3 separate regions of the Homo sapiens genome follow, and regions 1 and 2 are each linked to region 3. The links are contacts of gene promoters, found by promoter capture Hi-C in blood cells and fetal thymus (Javierre and others, 2016). All regions are on one chromosome and are shown on one strand. The core of a region is centred on a gene start or on the middle of the fragment in contact, and the rest is flanking DNA. Distances in the headings are between cores, read along the strand shown.

What was found. Contacts are between HindIII fragments. The CHiCAGO score rates a contact against its expected background, and 5 or more counts as called.
Region 1: a fragment that was not itself captured here is called in contact with the fragment with the promoter of HINT2 in region 3 in 6 of 17 cell types (fetal thymus, naive B cells, total CD8 T cells and 3 more); the score reaches 7.4 in fetal thymus.
Region 2: a fragment that was not itself captured here is called in contact with the fragment with the promoter of HINT2 in region 3 in 1 of 17 cell types (fetal thymus); the score reaches 5.4 in fetal thymus.

The regions. Positions count from the first base shown.
Region 1 is chr9:35,598,597-35,603,384 of GRCh38, reverse strand. No RefSeq gene overlaps it. Among named protein-coding and RNA genes, the nearest start is that of TESK1, 4.3 kb to the left of the region's middle. RefSeq lists silencers at 3,390-3,509, 4,079-4,373 and an enhancer at 3,699-4,339. The HindIII fragment of the contact is 3,614 bases long and covers 1-3,082 here.
Region 2 is chr9:35,620,162-35,625,044 of GRCh38, reverse strand. It overlaps LOC124902148 (a long non-coding RNA gene), which reads right to left and starts at 4,124. Exons shown (of 2, transcript XR_007061470.1): 1 at 4,036-4,124; 2 at 3,064-3,387. It also overlaps a transcript of CD72 not described here. The HindIII fragment of the contact is 3,138 bases long and covers 1,664-4,801 here.
Region 3 is chr9:35,812,335-35,816,833 of GRCh38, reverse strand. It overlaps HINT2 (histidine triad nucleotide binding protein 2), which reads left to right and starts at 1,792. Exons shown (of 5, transcript NM_032593.3): 1 at 1,792-1,935; 2 at 3,050-3,190; 3 at 3,285-3,389; 4 at 3,496-3,568; 5 at 3,689-3,874. The coding sequence starts at 1,855. The coding sequence ends at 3,780. FAM221B (family with sequence similarity 221 member B) reads left to right here. Exons shown (of 7, transcript NM_001012446.4): 7 at 1-443. RefSeq lists silencers at 1,150-1,329, 1,660-1,979 and enhancers at 1,420-1,599, 4,498-4,499. The HindIII fragment of the contact is 5,278 bases long and covers 1-4,054 here.

The DNA of each region.
Region 1 (4,788 bases), core at 26-2,525, 210 kb after region 3:
GTAATGCCAAGCCAAAGAGCCAGGTGCCTATTTTTTGTAAGATGATTGCGGTGGTTGTATGGAGGCCGGGAGACTGATTAGGAAGGAGGCTGTGACTGTGGTTCAATCAGGAAAGGATGAGACCAGCCTGGCCAACGTAGTGAAACCCCGTCTCTACTAAAAATACAAAAAAATTAGCCTGATGTGGCGAGCGCCTGTAATTCCAGCTACTCTGGAATCTGAGGCAGGTGAATCGCTTGAACCCGGGAGGCGGAGGTTGCAGTGAGCCAAGATCGCGCCATTACACTCCTGTCTAGGCGACAAGAGCGGGACTCTGTCTCAAAAAAACCTTTTGTTGTTGTTTGTATGGTGGAAAATGTCTTAACACACACACACAGAATAGAAAAATGAATGTTTATTTACCTTGGATTAGTAAGACCATTTTGTTGGAAACCCATAGTGCAAAATTGGCTTTCCTTTGCCTCAGTTGTACTGTTGCCATATTTGACCTGGCCCAGGTGAAAGTACCTACTTTCATTTACCCTTCTATGTCAGTGATTCTCCAATGAGCAATTCATGGCCAATCTTGTTTCATCTATACCCGTGCCCTCTTCCCCACTCCATATTTGTGTATATTTCTGACATATCATTTCATCCTGTAAATGTTTCAGTACGTTATCTCTAAATGATAAGGATTCTTCTTTAAAACCAAATCACAGTATTGTCACACCAAAAAAAAACAATAGTTCCTTCATGTCATCAAGCATCCAGTTGTTTACATTTCCCTCACTGTCTTACGTTTGATTTTTAAAAATTGTTTATTTGAATCAAAATCTAAATTAGGTCTGTACTTTGCAGGTGATATGTCTGTCTGTCTGTCTCTCTTTTTGTGAGACAGGGTCTGGCTCTATCACCCAGGATGGAGTGCAGTGGGTTGATCTCGGCTCACAGCAACCTCCACCCCCGAGGCTCAAGCAATCCTGCCTCAGCCTTCTGAGTGGCTGGGACTACTGAGGTGTGGGTACCACCACACCTGTCTAATTTTTGTATTTTTGTAGAGATGGGGTTTGCCACGTTGCCCAGGCTGGTCTCAACTCCTGGGCTCAAGCATTCCATTCGCCTTGGCCTCCCAAAGTGCTGGGATTATAGGTGTGAGCCACCACACCCAGCCATATGTTTCTTAAGTCTTTGCAGATCTATGCTTATTCTCCATCTTTTTTCTTACTATTTTTTAAAACTGGTTCATTTGTCCTGTAGAGTTTCTTAGAGTCTTGATTTCTGTGGTAATTTAGCATGTTCCTCCATCCTCTGTATTTGATATAAATTGGTAACTTAATCAAATTTAGATTTCTTTTGGCAAAACTAATTTGTAGATGGTTTTAGCACTTCTATCAGGAGGTATACAGGAGGTATACAGTGGTGGTCTTTTTGTGATTTTAATAACTGATATTTGTTTCTCAACCGTGGCACTATTGACATTTTGGGCTGGAAAATTCTTTATTGTAGGGGCTGTCCTGTGTATTGTAGGATGCTTAGCAGCATCTCTGGCCTCTACCTAATGGATGCCAGTAGCACCTCCTCCTGACTGTAACAATAAAAAAATGTGTCTAGACATTGCCATTTGTCCTCTGGGGGACAAAATTGACCCTGAATAAGAACCACTGGTCTAGGTTCATTAATAGAGGAGTTAAAGCTGGGCATGGTGGCACGCGACTATAGTCCCAACTACATGGGAAGTTGAGCCGAGAGGGTTGCTTGAGCCCAGGAGTTCGAGTCCAGCCTGGGCATCATAGCAAGACCCTGTCTCAAAATAAATAAAAAGTTAGAAAATAATATTATCATTCCTTCTTTGAATGAATTCCTATAGAAGTATTAGGTAGAATAATTCTATAAGGAGAAACTTTTCCACATTAACTATTTGTTACACAGAGATACATTTCCTAGGAAAGGCAGAATAAATACTTGATTGTTTCTCACTTATTTTACCAGCTTTCAAAGTAATGAGTTGGTTCCCCAGCATCTTCCAAAGTTGACCGATGAGGTTTTTTTTAAAGTACCATTATGAACTCATAATTTAACACATATGTGATATACTCAATTATTGCTAGTTATCTTTTTTTTCTTTTTGAGACGGGTCTCACTCTTTTTCAGGCTGGAGTGCAGTGGCACAAAGCTCACTGCAACCTTGACCTCCCGGGCTCAAGTGATTCTCTCATCTCAGCCTCCCAAGTAACTGGGACTACAAGCACGTGCCATCACACCTGGCTAATTTTTAATTTTTTTGTAGAGACAGGGTCTCACCATGTTTTGCCCAGGCTGGTCTCAAACTCCTGGCCTCAAGTGATCCTCCTGCCTTGGCCTCCCAAAGTGCTGGGATTACAGACATGAGCCACTGCACCCAGCCCAGTTATTGATTGATTGATTGATTGAGATGGAGTCTTGCTCTGTCACCCAGGCTAGAGTGCAGTGGTGTGATCTCGGCTCACTGCAAACTCCGCTTCCCAGGTTCAAGCGATTCCCCTGTCTCAGCCTCCTGAGTAGCTGGGATTACAGACACCTGTCACCACGCCCGGCTGATTTTTGTATTTTTAGTAGAGACAGAGTTTCACCATGTTGGCCAGGCTGGTCTCAAACTCCTGACCTCAGGTGATCCTCCTGCCTTGGCCTCCCAAAGTGCTGGGATTACAGGCGTGAGCCACTGCGCCCAGTTATCATTTTTGGTGCTTGTCCTATTGTTACGGGATCTTTGGGGCGTCCTTTTTCTGGCCAGAAACCTCTGTGGCTGGTGGTGCTTTTGCCCCAGTTTTGCTCAGGCCCTCTGGGCTTGTTTCGCCTACCCAGCCTGGCAGCCTGTGCTTGGCTCACGCTACCAGCCTGGGTCCCATGCCTGCCAAGGGTGAGACAGGCGTGGAACAGTTAGGGGTATGTGAGTGAGCATTGGGTCCAGCCACTGTGCACAGTCAGACATTCCGGGTGCTGCAGTGGGGCGGGCAGTTCCAGGTGCCAGCATGGCACCATTTCCCTGCAAGCCTGCGGCCGGACCAGGCACATGGCAAGCAGCTTCCACAGCTGGCACTGGGGGACACATTGGTGCCTGGAAGCTTGGAGATGCCAGGAACAGCAGGTCCTCAAAGAGGAAGTCACAGCCCTGGCTTGGGGAGCTCCCAGGGCTAGGCTCCCCGAAGGGCTGCAGTTCTTCTTTCCTTGCCTTCACCCACAACGTGGCAAGCAAGGGTCATGTCTCACCCCCGTTTGTTACAGCTCTTTTAGCCTCACCATTTGGTGGGTCCTGAGTTCTTGTCCTGCGACAGGAAGAATGAGGTACGCAGACAAGTGAAGAGTGAGCAAGACAAAGAGTAGCTTTATTGAGCAATAGAACAGCTCAAAAGAAACCTGCAGGGGGCAGCTCCTTTCCCTAGCAGGGGTGTCCTGAGGCATGTTCAGCTCCTAGCAGAGAGGGTAGCTCCTCTCTGCTAGGCAAGTCGTCCTGACAAGTGTTCAGCTATCAGCAGGGAGGGTAGCGTCTCTCTGCAGCTGGTTGTCCTGTCATCTGTGCAGCTCTCAGCAGAGGGGAGGCCCTAGAGTGGGTGGCTTCTCTCTGCAGGTATGTCATCCTGTAGTCTCTGCAGCTCTCAGCAGAGAGGAGGCCCCAAAGTTGGTTGCTCCTCTCTGCAGCTGGTTGTCCCAACATCTGCGGCTCTCACAGAGAGGAGGCCTTGGTGTGGGTAGCTCCTCTCTGCAGCTGATTGTCCTGACGTCTGCTCAGAGCCTGGGCTTTTATGGGCCTTAGAGGGGAGGAAGTGCATGCCAGTTGGTCCTGGGCAGCCATGGGTGGGCCTGGAAGTGTCACCACAAGTTCCCACTCCCATAGTGTGATGGGCAGCCCGGTCCCCAGCCTTCAGGCCCTCCCTGGCCTGAAAGTGGGGCCTTACCAGGGACCTGCCCCATCCGCTCAGAAGCCTGTCTGCCTCCTGCTGCCATTCATGGTGCCCAGGCTGTAGGTGCCAAGAGGCGCCTGCAGGCCAGTGCTGAGCTGCCTTCAGACCCCACTTGGCTTCCCTCCTATGCTCATTGGCACCCAAAATCTGTAGGGGACCAAAGCAGCAGGGGACTGGTGTGTCAGCACTGCTCCGAGTATGTGCACACTCGGCCAGGCTGTGACAGTGCCCAGGCTCTGCTCGGACTTTGTTCTGAGATTGGAGTGGGCACCAACAGCAGGAAGAAGCCAGGCAGTTGGAGCAGGAATTTCTGAGCCTGTGAGGCCTTCTGGGGCCCCAAGAGGGCAGGGATTCCTGAGTCTGCAGCCACTCTTTGAGTGGCTGCACCTACACCTGGCAGGGGCGGGGCTCCTGCCTGCTCTGCTGAGCAGGAGGCCTGAGTCTGCAGCTGTGGTTTGGGTGGCTGCAGCTGCGCCTGGAAAGGTAGGGCTCCTGTCTGCTCCCGGTCCTGAAAGCACAGGGATGCCTGGGTCCACAGCCGTGGCTTGGGCGGCTGCAGCAGCACCCAGGGAGCTCCCACCCCAACTTGGAAGGGACAAGGATCCCGCTTGTCCCCAGCTCCTGTTGGCTCCATGGAATGTGCAGCCCTGGCCATGCCTCCCTGCTGCAGCTGGCATGATGGCAGCAGCCACTGCAGACAGCCTGCTGCTGCCATCACTATTTTGTTCCCACTGGCCAAAACTGTCCTATTTTGGCCAGTGGGAACTTATTCAAGTTAGTTCCTGAGTCCTTCTGACATAAATTTCCAGTTTTCTTGCTATCCAATATGATAAAATGTTCTGGACTCATTTTGTGCATATCTAGACCAGAG
Region 2 (4,883 bases), core at 1,983-4,482, 190 kb after region 3:
GAGACCATTGTAGGGTTATTAACTGTCCTAATTTTAAGATTGTTGTGTCTCAGGGAATAGAGAGACCCAAGGAGAGGGAGCAAGACAGGGAATAGCCAGTCAGTGGAGCAGTCAGAACACACACAACTTTTATTAAGTTCAATGTCTTATAGGTATGGTTCATGGTGCTCCAAAACAATGACAATATTAACATCAAAAATCACTGATCACAGATCTCCATAACAGATACAATAATAATGAAAAAAGTTTGAAATATTTTAAGAATTACCAAAATGTGATGACACAGAGACACGAAGTGAGCACGTGCTGTTGGAAAATGGCACCAGTAGACTTGCTTGCCACAGGGTTGCCATAAACCTTCAACCTGTAAAAAACTCAGTATCTGTGAAGCGTAATAAGTGAAGTGCAATAAAATGAGGTGTGCCTGGACATTCCTACAGTATGTAGCAGCAGCCCTAACCCCTCATGATAATCAGGCAATCAGGTTCAGTCACCTCTGCCAGGGTAATCGCTCCCCACTAAGTATGTGAGCTAGGAGTAGCCAGGCACGATCGCTAGGTATGGAGAATTCTGTGGGTCAAGGTAGATGCTCTCTATACATCCTTTCATCTTTAACTCCCACTGCCAACTCAGTGGTCATCTCCATATTTTCCCACTTAAATTCCTGAAAATTGGCATTTGATAAACTCATCCTGATGTCCAGGTCGCTGGCTTGTCCATGGACTGGCCAGCCTTAGGCAGAGGCCCACTTGCTCATTTTATATTTTTATTAAATTAAATTTATTATTATTATTATTATTATTATTATTATTATTATTATTATTATTATTTTTGAGACAGAGTCTCCCTTTGTCGCCCAGGCTGGAGTGCAGTGGTGTGATCTTGGCTCACTGCAACCTCCGCCTCCCAGGTTCAAGTGATTCTCCTGCCTCAGCCTCCCGAGTAGCTGGGATTACAGGCATGTGCCACCACGCCCAGCTAATTTTTGTATTTTTAGTAGAGATGGGGTTTCATCGTGTTGGTCAGGCTGGTCGTGATCCACCGACTTCAGCCTCCCAAAGTGCTGGGATTACAGGCGTGAGCCACTGGGCCTGGCCTTTATAAATTTGTCTTTTTAACCCATTTTTTTCTGAGACGGAGTCTTGCTCTGTCACCCAGGCTGGAGTGCAGTGGTGGAATCTCGGCTCACTGCAAGCTCCGCCTCCTGGGTTCAAGCTATTCTCTTGCCTCAGCCTCCTGAGTAGCTGGGATTACGCATGTACCACTATGCCCAGCTAATTTTGTATTTTTAGTAGAGACGGGGTTTCGCCATGTTGGCCAGGCTGGTCTTGAACTCCTGACCTCAGGTGATCCGCCTGCCTCGGCCTCCCAAAGAGCTGGGATTATAGGTGTGAGCCACTGCGCCAGGCCTCGCTTGCTAATTTTAATCAGCTGAGGTCAAAGGGGTTGGAGGTCACAAGACACAATTTCTGGGGACTAGGGCTGCCTCATCAGCAGGGGTTTGCCTGCTTAAAAAGGGCTATAGGTAGTATTTAAGTATGGGATAAAAAACACAAAGTAAAAAACAAAACAAAAAAAAAGGGCTATAGGTGTGGCTGGCACAATGTTAGATGTATTTGGTAAGGGGGCTACAGTTCTATGTGGCAGCCTTTTGTCACAAGCTTCTTTCCAGTCACTGGGTCAGTTTATAAGGCGCTTACAGCCTGCTGAGTCCAGTTTCCCAATTTGTAAAATAAGCAGGCTGGGCTCTCTAAGATCCCTTCAAGTGTAAAATAATAACTGCCTTTCTCCTCAAACTTTGTTACATAAACAATTGTTAACCCAGGACTCCCTCCATCCTATGCTTATGCAATTTATTTTTTGAATTCCAAATTTCATTTTTCAATAAATGCTTGCTGTATTATCTTTTTTTTATTTTAATTTTGATTCATTTATTTTTTGAGGGAGGGTTTCACTGCTGCCCAGGCCAGAGTGCAGTGGCACAAACATGGCTGACAGCAGCCTCGCCCTCCTGGGCTCAAACAATCCTCCCCACTCAGCCTCCCAAGAAGCTGAGACCATAAGCATGTGCCATCACACCTGCCTAATTTTTAAATTTTTTGTAGAGATGGAGTCTCGCTGTGTTGGCCAGTCTGGTCTCGAATTCCTAGGCCCAAGTGATCCTCCCACCTCAGCTTCCCAAAGTCTTGGGATTATAGGCATGAGCCATTGTGCCTGACTTTGCTGTTATTATTATTATTATTATTATTATTTTTTTTGAGACAGAGTCTCGCTCTGTCACCCAGGCTGGAGTGCAGTGGCACCACCTTGGCTCACTGCAACCTCTGCCTCCCGGGTTTAAGCGATTCTTTTGCTTCAGCCTCCTGGGTAGCTGGGACTACAGGTGTGCGCCGCCATGCCCGGCTAATTTTTGTATTATTAGTAGAGACGGGGTTTCACCATATTGGCCAGGCTGGTCTCGAAATTCTGACCTTGTGATCTGTGCACCTTGGCTTCCCAAGGGATAACAGGCGTGAGCCATCGTGCCTGGCCTGCTGTTATTATTTTTATGACATTTCATTCTGTGGTTTGGAGCCATCATTTTGCCTTGTTGCAAGGCTTGAATCTTGAGTTGGCCTTTTGATGTATTTGCTTTTCAGCTCTGTGCCATTAAGCACAGAGAACGTGCTTTCTGTGTCACCATTTGAGGCAGGACCAAGGAGAGGCCTGGGGCAAGTCACCGAAGACCTATCTGTACTCTTTGGCTTCAGTGATCAAAGAAATCCAAGTCTCCCTCATGGTGCAATCAGGTGGCCCATTTTTCTCCCTCCTGACTCTGAAGCCTTTGTGACAGATTTTAAAGAGGCGTTTGTAAAGTCCACACCTAGTGTGTCTCCAGCAATCATACTCTTGATTGAGGTCAGACTATCTTGTATTTTACAGATGGAAAACTGTCACTTGCCCAAAGTCACATACTGTGGCAAGGCTGGTCTCTTTAACCAGAGTCTCCCTATTCTTTCTATTACATCATGCTTCCTCCACAGTTCACGAAACTCTTGCTGCTCTAATAAATTACACACTTGGTGGCTTAAACAATACAAATTTATTGTCTTACAGTTGTGGAGATCAGGTCGACACAGGTCTCACTGGGCTAAAGTCAAGGTGTCTGCAGGGCTGGTTCCTTTCTGGATGCTGAAGGGGAAAATCTGCTTCCTTGCCTTTTCCAGCTCTCAGAGGCTTCTTGCATTCCTTGGCTCAAGGTCCTCTTCCTGCACCTTCAAAATCAGGACCTATGGGTTGAGTGTTTCTCCTGTGGCGTCTCTCTGGCCCTCCTTCCCTCACCGAATCTCTTTCTTCCCATGATGGGAAAGGTTCTCCCTTTCAAGGACTCATGTGATCAGAGTGTGCCTACCAAGATAAAACAGGATAATCTCTCTATCTAAAGGACCTTGATTAACATAGCCACATCTACATTTTGTCAGGTAAAGTGACATAGTCACAGGTTCTGGGGATTCGGGTGTGAACATTTTTGGGAGGCCATTATTCTGGCTACCACACCCTGTCAGTAAACTAGGGCTTCCCGGAGGCCAGTGGGTTAAAGTAATGAAGACAGATATAGCCTGACTTTCAGAGTCTTAGGAGATGCTCCCGATGTCCTGACATAGACTGTATCAATGACACAAAGTTGATCAGGTGAGCCCCCTTCCACATGGCAAATTCTATCTGATGCCCTCATGGTTGGGCCCCCTCCTCTTGTCAACCGTAAACACCCATTCCCTGTAATGAGTAGTGGGGAGGCCAGGAGAGGGCAAAACATGGGTGTTAGTGTCTGCCCTCCAGGCTCTCAGATGATGATAGTATGGTTCTGGAAAAGCTGAAATGTACAGCACTGACCCCTCACCTCTTAAAAGTTCCCTGATATTTGGGCAGTAGAGGTACAGCTTGGAGTTACAGGTATCTTTTCTGATGTCCAGCCTCTAAATGTAATGTGAATGTCAAAACTGTAAAGACCCCAAGTGACACACGTGGGGAAGGGGAAGGATCCTACTCTCTTACCCTGTTCACAAAGGAAGGCTACAAGCTGGTCTAAGACAGAAGCGAATGCGGCCTGTGATGAAAAGATATGTAACCATCACCAAAAGAGCTAAAGAGGAGAAAAATATAGAACAAGCCTGGTTAAGACATTCAAGATATTGCGGTGTGCAGTTCCATCTGGGGATCCCCTTCTTTTTTTTATTTTTTTTTATTTTTGGAGACAGAGTCTCACTCTGTGGCCCAGGATGGGCACAATCTCGGCTCACTGCAACCTCTGCCTCCCGGGTTCAAGCAATTCTCAGCCTCCCTAGTAGCTGGAATTACAGGCACATGCCACCATTCTCAGCTAATTTTGTATTTTTAATACAGATGGGATTTCACCATGTTTGCCAGGCTAGTCTCAAATTCCTGACCTCAGGTGATCCGCCCACCTCAGCCTCCCAAAGTGCTGGGATTACAGGTGTGAGCCACCATGCCGGCCAGGAGATCCCCTTCTTAAGCCTCTCTACAGGTCAAGTTAGGCAGCAAGCCCATGTATTCCATTTTTTTTTTTTTTTTTGGAGATGGAGCTTTGCTCTTGTTGCCTAGGCTGGAGTGCAATGGTGTGATCTTGGCTCACTGCAACCTCCACCTCCTGGGTTCAAGCGATTCTCCTGCCTCAGCCTCCTGAGTAGCTGGGACTACAGGTTCGAGCCACCACACCAGGCTAATTTTTTTGTATTTTGTAGTAGAGACGGGGTTTCACTATGTTGGCCACAGACACCTTTTTGAGTGCAGACTAGAAGCTTGGTTTTGGCATTTTACCTGGCATCTACATCATGTTCACCTGTGTATTGGATCTGAAAACTGGGACATTCTACAGTTTGTGG
Region 3 (4,499 bases), core at 543-3,042:
CCAAGGGAAGGAATGCAATCTGGACTGCTAGGATCCCTGGGGAAAATCACAGAATCAAATGTCTGCCCTTTAGAGGAGAAAGGATTTTCTAACAATAATATAGCTATACAAAAGAGATTGTTATATCTCTAGAAGCAAAGTTCCCCAACAGTGGTTATATGCCCCATGATAACCATTCACCTAAAACTAATTCAACTAATAGTCAACAATAGAGTTAGGATTACTATGATAAACTCATTGAAGGAAATAATAAGCAGCCAATACAAACTATATTTACGTAGACTGTAAAAATATGAAAAATTGATTACACATGGGTTAGTATCATATGCAATACATATTACATATTATGAAAAAAAGACAGGAAACACCAAATGTTATTCATTCAACAATTACTGACCACCTATATGTATCAGGTCATGTGTTTAAAAAAAAAAAAAAGAAAAAAAGAAAAACCAAAGAAACAGTGGTAACTTGTCCTATGTGATATCAGACTAAAACTTACCTAGCGTCTGAGAATATTAGTATTTTGTGACCCCACGTTTCTTATGTCAAAAATATATATTCCAGCAGTGCAAACCTGACTTATTGGTGCCTCATACCTGTAATCCCAGCACCTTGGGAGGCCGAGGCAGGAGGATCACGAGGTCAGGAGATCGAGACCATCCTGGCTAACACGGTGAAACCCCGTCTCTAATAAAAATACAAAAAATTAGCCGGGCGTGGTGGCGGGTGCCTGTAGTCCCAGCTACTCGGGAGGCTGAGGCAGGAGAATGGCGTGAACTCGGGAGGCGGAGCTTGCAGTGAGCCGAGATCGCGCCACTGCACTCCAGCCTGGGCGACAGAGCGAGACTCCGTCTCAAAAAAAAAAAAAAAGAAAAAAGAAAAAAAGAAAAAAAAAGAAAACACCAGGCACCGAGCTAACTGTATCACACACCTTTTCCGATTAGAAAAGAACAATGAATACATACTCCTTTGCTTATTATAATTCTTGTGCGGCAAATATAGGACACTCTTATCTCCTCCTGCTCAAAAAAAAAAAATGCAAAAACCACAGACTTTTTAATCTATGGAGTGAATGCGTTAACAAGAACATAGAATTAAGGAAGAATTTCCCTTAGATAAGTACATTAAAATCTCCAAAATGCTCAAGGGACTGAAACTGCCCTTGTGGAGAAAATGCTGCGCATCAGCCCCGCCAGTTAAAACAAACAAACAAACACAAAAAAACACACCTCATCCCCGTTCACCTTTAGCCCCACCCCGGGTGGTTCTTGGAGCCAATAAGCGCCGGATGCCCTCAGAGCCCCGCCCTCCTCCTGGCCAAAGCGGTGAGAGGGTCTAAAACAGCCCTTTCTGCAGCAGGTGGCGGAGCCCCGCCCCCTTCTCCCCGCGCACCAATAGGAACCAGACCTGAAGAGGACGAACCAAGAACGAAAAGAACCACCCACTCGGGAGCCGCAACCTAGAAGCCAGAGTTGTGTATCAGATTCAACTAGGAGAAAATCCCACCTCCAGGCTCCATTAATCCTTCCAATGGAGTGGAAGTTTCTCTCACAGAGAAACTAGTAAGGGGATCCAATGGGAAAAGAACGTTCACACGGACTAGAAGACGAAACCAATGGAATGGAAAATTGTCCTCGCGTTGGTAGAAGCAGCCAATGAGATGAAAAGAGCCCGCCTCCAAAGTGGCTGCAGAGGCAATGGGGTGAATCGTGCTCAGAGGCGCGCTCCAATGGGGTAGCAGGGCTCGCCCGGCCGCCACTACCCCGCTTCCCCGCGCCCGGAGTCCCCACCCACGGCCGGCCGCGGAGCCGAGTGCTGACCCGGGTGAGAGGTTCCCGCGGCTCAGGGAAGATGGCGGCAGCCGTGGTGCTGGCTGCTGGGTTGCGCGCGGCGCGCAGAGCCGTGGCGGCCACGGGGGTGCGCGGGGGGCAGGTGAGAAGTGGCGCGGGAGCGAGTAGGGGGTCCTGCGGGCTCCGAAGCCATCCGGGGCCAGGGGGTCCCGAAGGCGCGCAGAGCCGCGCAGAGCTCCTGCCTGTGGCCTCTGCCCCTCCGAGGCACAAGCTCCGGGGCTGTGTGGTGAGGTCGAACTGGTGGCTCCGGAGAACGAGCTGGTGCTGATTCCCGCCCTGCGCAGGCCGGGGCGCCGAGGTCGGGACAGGGTCAGTGCAGCGGCTGCCGCCTTCTTTCCACTGCCTGCAGCCCAGCTGGCCCGATGCCCCCTGCAGGAAATGAGCTTTCTCTTCTTGGAGCCAGTGCTCTGCCCTCCTCAGGCTTCTGGCCTCCTAATGAGCACTAGTGTTAACCTCTCTTCTGCACTTGCCAGAAGCGGCTCGGAGGTCAGAGAATTCATTCCGTCCCGTTCTCCCCCAACGTGATGCAATGACATCAGCCTTCTCTGAATCCCTTACCCGAAGTTCCCTGGGGCTAGGGGAGCAGAGGTCACTTAGCTGAACTCTTACCTCCACTCATTCAAGGGACAAGAGTTAAAATTCACAGAGTCACATGTGACACCCAGATGAGGGGTCAACTAGTGTCAAACAGGGCGATTGCATTAAAACTTAAATAAAACAGGCGACAAGGCTTAAAGATCAGAAAACAAGTAACGGAAATAAGTGGAAATGTACTAACAAGGTGAGAGTGGAAAGAGATTCAAGCCATCGCAAGAGATTATGGAAACCATCCCTTTATTTTATATTAGAAGCTGAGAGAAGGAATTTATCTGAGGTAATTCAGTGGTATGGTAAGGTAGGAACTGAGACCAAAATCCCCAGTCTCTCATTCTAGATCCTTTCCCTAAACAGTGCTATATTTCGTGGACACATGAGCAGGAATCAATTGCACTGCTGAATCCTGATAATAATACCGCCTGTTATCTAACCAGGTCCAGCACCTTCTGGCCCTACCCTTTGCTGCTGGTGCTCTGAAATTCAGGAACTTTCCTCCTGGGTGGGAACGATGAATAGGTTATTAGAAGGACGAAATTAACAACTATCAGAGCCCAGCTTCTGCCAGCTCCCTCCTTTGAATATGGTCGATCCACCTTCAGGTCCGAGGAGCTGCAGGTGTGACTGATGGGAATGAAGTGGCCAAGGCCCAGCAGGCAACTCCTGGGGGAGCAGCCCCAACCATCTTCTCCCGGATCCTGGACAAGAGCCTCCCAGCTGACATTCTCTATGAGGACCAGCAGGTGGGGTGCTCTTAGGACCTATCCCCTTAGGAATGTTGTAGATACCATCCAACCTGTTGAAGTAACGTGGCCTCTGGCCTGTCACTTCCCCCAGTGTCTTGTGTTCCGTGATGTGGCCCCTCAGGCTCCTGTGCACTTCCTGGTCATTCCTAAGAAGCCCATTCCTCGGATTAGCCAGGCTGAAGAAGAAGACCAGCAGGTGGGAAGAACAGGGCCAGGGTTTGGCTGGGAGGAGCCCCTGGACCCAGCTAGAGGTCTTGCTCCCTATGAATGAAGCCACCTATGTCCCTCCGCTCTCTCTATAGCTTCTAGGACACCTACTCCTTGTGGCCAAGCAGACAGCAAAGGCTGAGGGCCTGGGAGATGGATACCGACTTGGTGAGTGACTTTTGGCCCTTGGTCCCTCACCTATGAATTCTCATTCCTACTTCTCAATATGATCTTCATTCTTCGACCTCTGCCATGATCCTGACTCCCTAACCCCAAGCTCAATTTCAGTGATCAACGATGGGAAGCTGGGTGCACAATCTGTGTATCATCTGCACATTCATGTACTTGGGGGCCGGCAGCTCCAGTGGCCTCCAGGTTGAACCTGCCAACTGATTAAAGGACACCAGACTCTGGATGCTTGGATGGAAAGGGAAAAATGGACCCTGTGATGCTAATAAAACTGTTCTCCCTTAATTATGCTCTCCTGTCTTTAATATAAAATTTTATACCACAAAGGGGAAAGAAAACTGATTCAGGGCTATGATGCCCCTTGACTGGTCTGAGTGAAAGACACTGAGGAGGTCCAACCTGTGGTTAAATGTTGCCTGCAGATATGTAAGTCTTCTTGACAAGTGGTCCACCCTAGGTCAAGCTTCTAGAAAAGTAACAGTAGGAATGAGCCTAAATGAGTAGGAAGAAACTGAAAGCCAATCCTGGCCCTTCTTCAGAGGTCAAACCAGGTTCTAAGGGCGCTTAGGAGGAGGGTGGTCAATATGAGGGTCTTTTATTAGAGGAGGAGTAATCACACCCAAACAAAAGCGGCTGCCTTTTCACTATTCTACGTCTCACCATTTTGCTCAAGCTAGTTTGTTTATTTTCATCCTTAACATTTGTTAAAGACCCCACTCACTTTTGAGAATGAACTAAGCAAACTAAGGGGAAGCTACTTGCCTCTCAGCAAACACCAAGTAGGCTGTAATCTAATGCCACAACCCTGTGCCTGTTTCCAACATATCCCCATAAAGCATCATCTTAGAAAACCGCACGCAAAGACTGTTTGGACGTGGAGGGCGAGGTCTTAAGCCAGCGGAACCCTAAA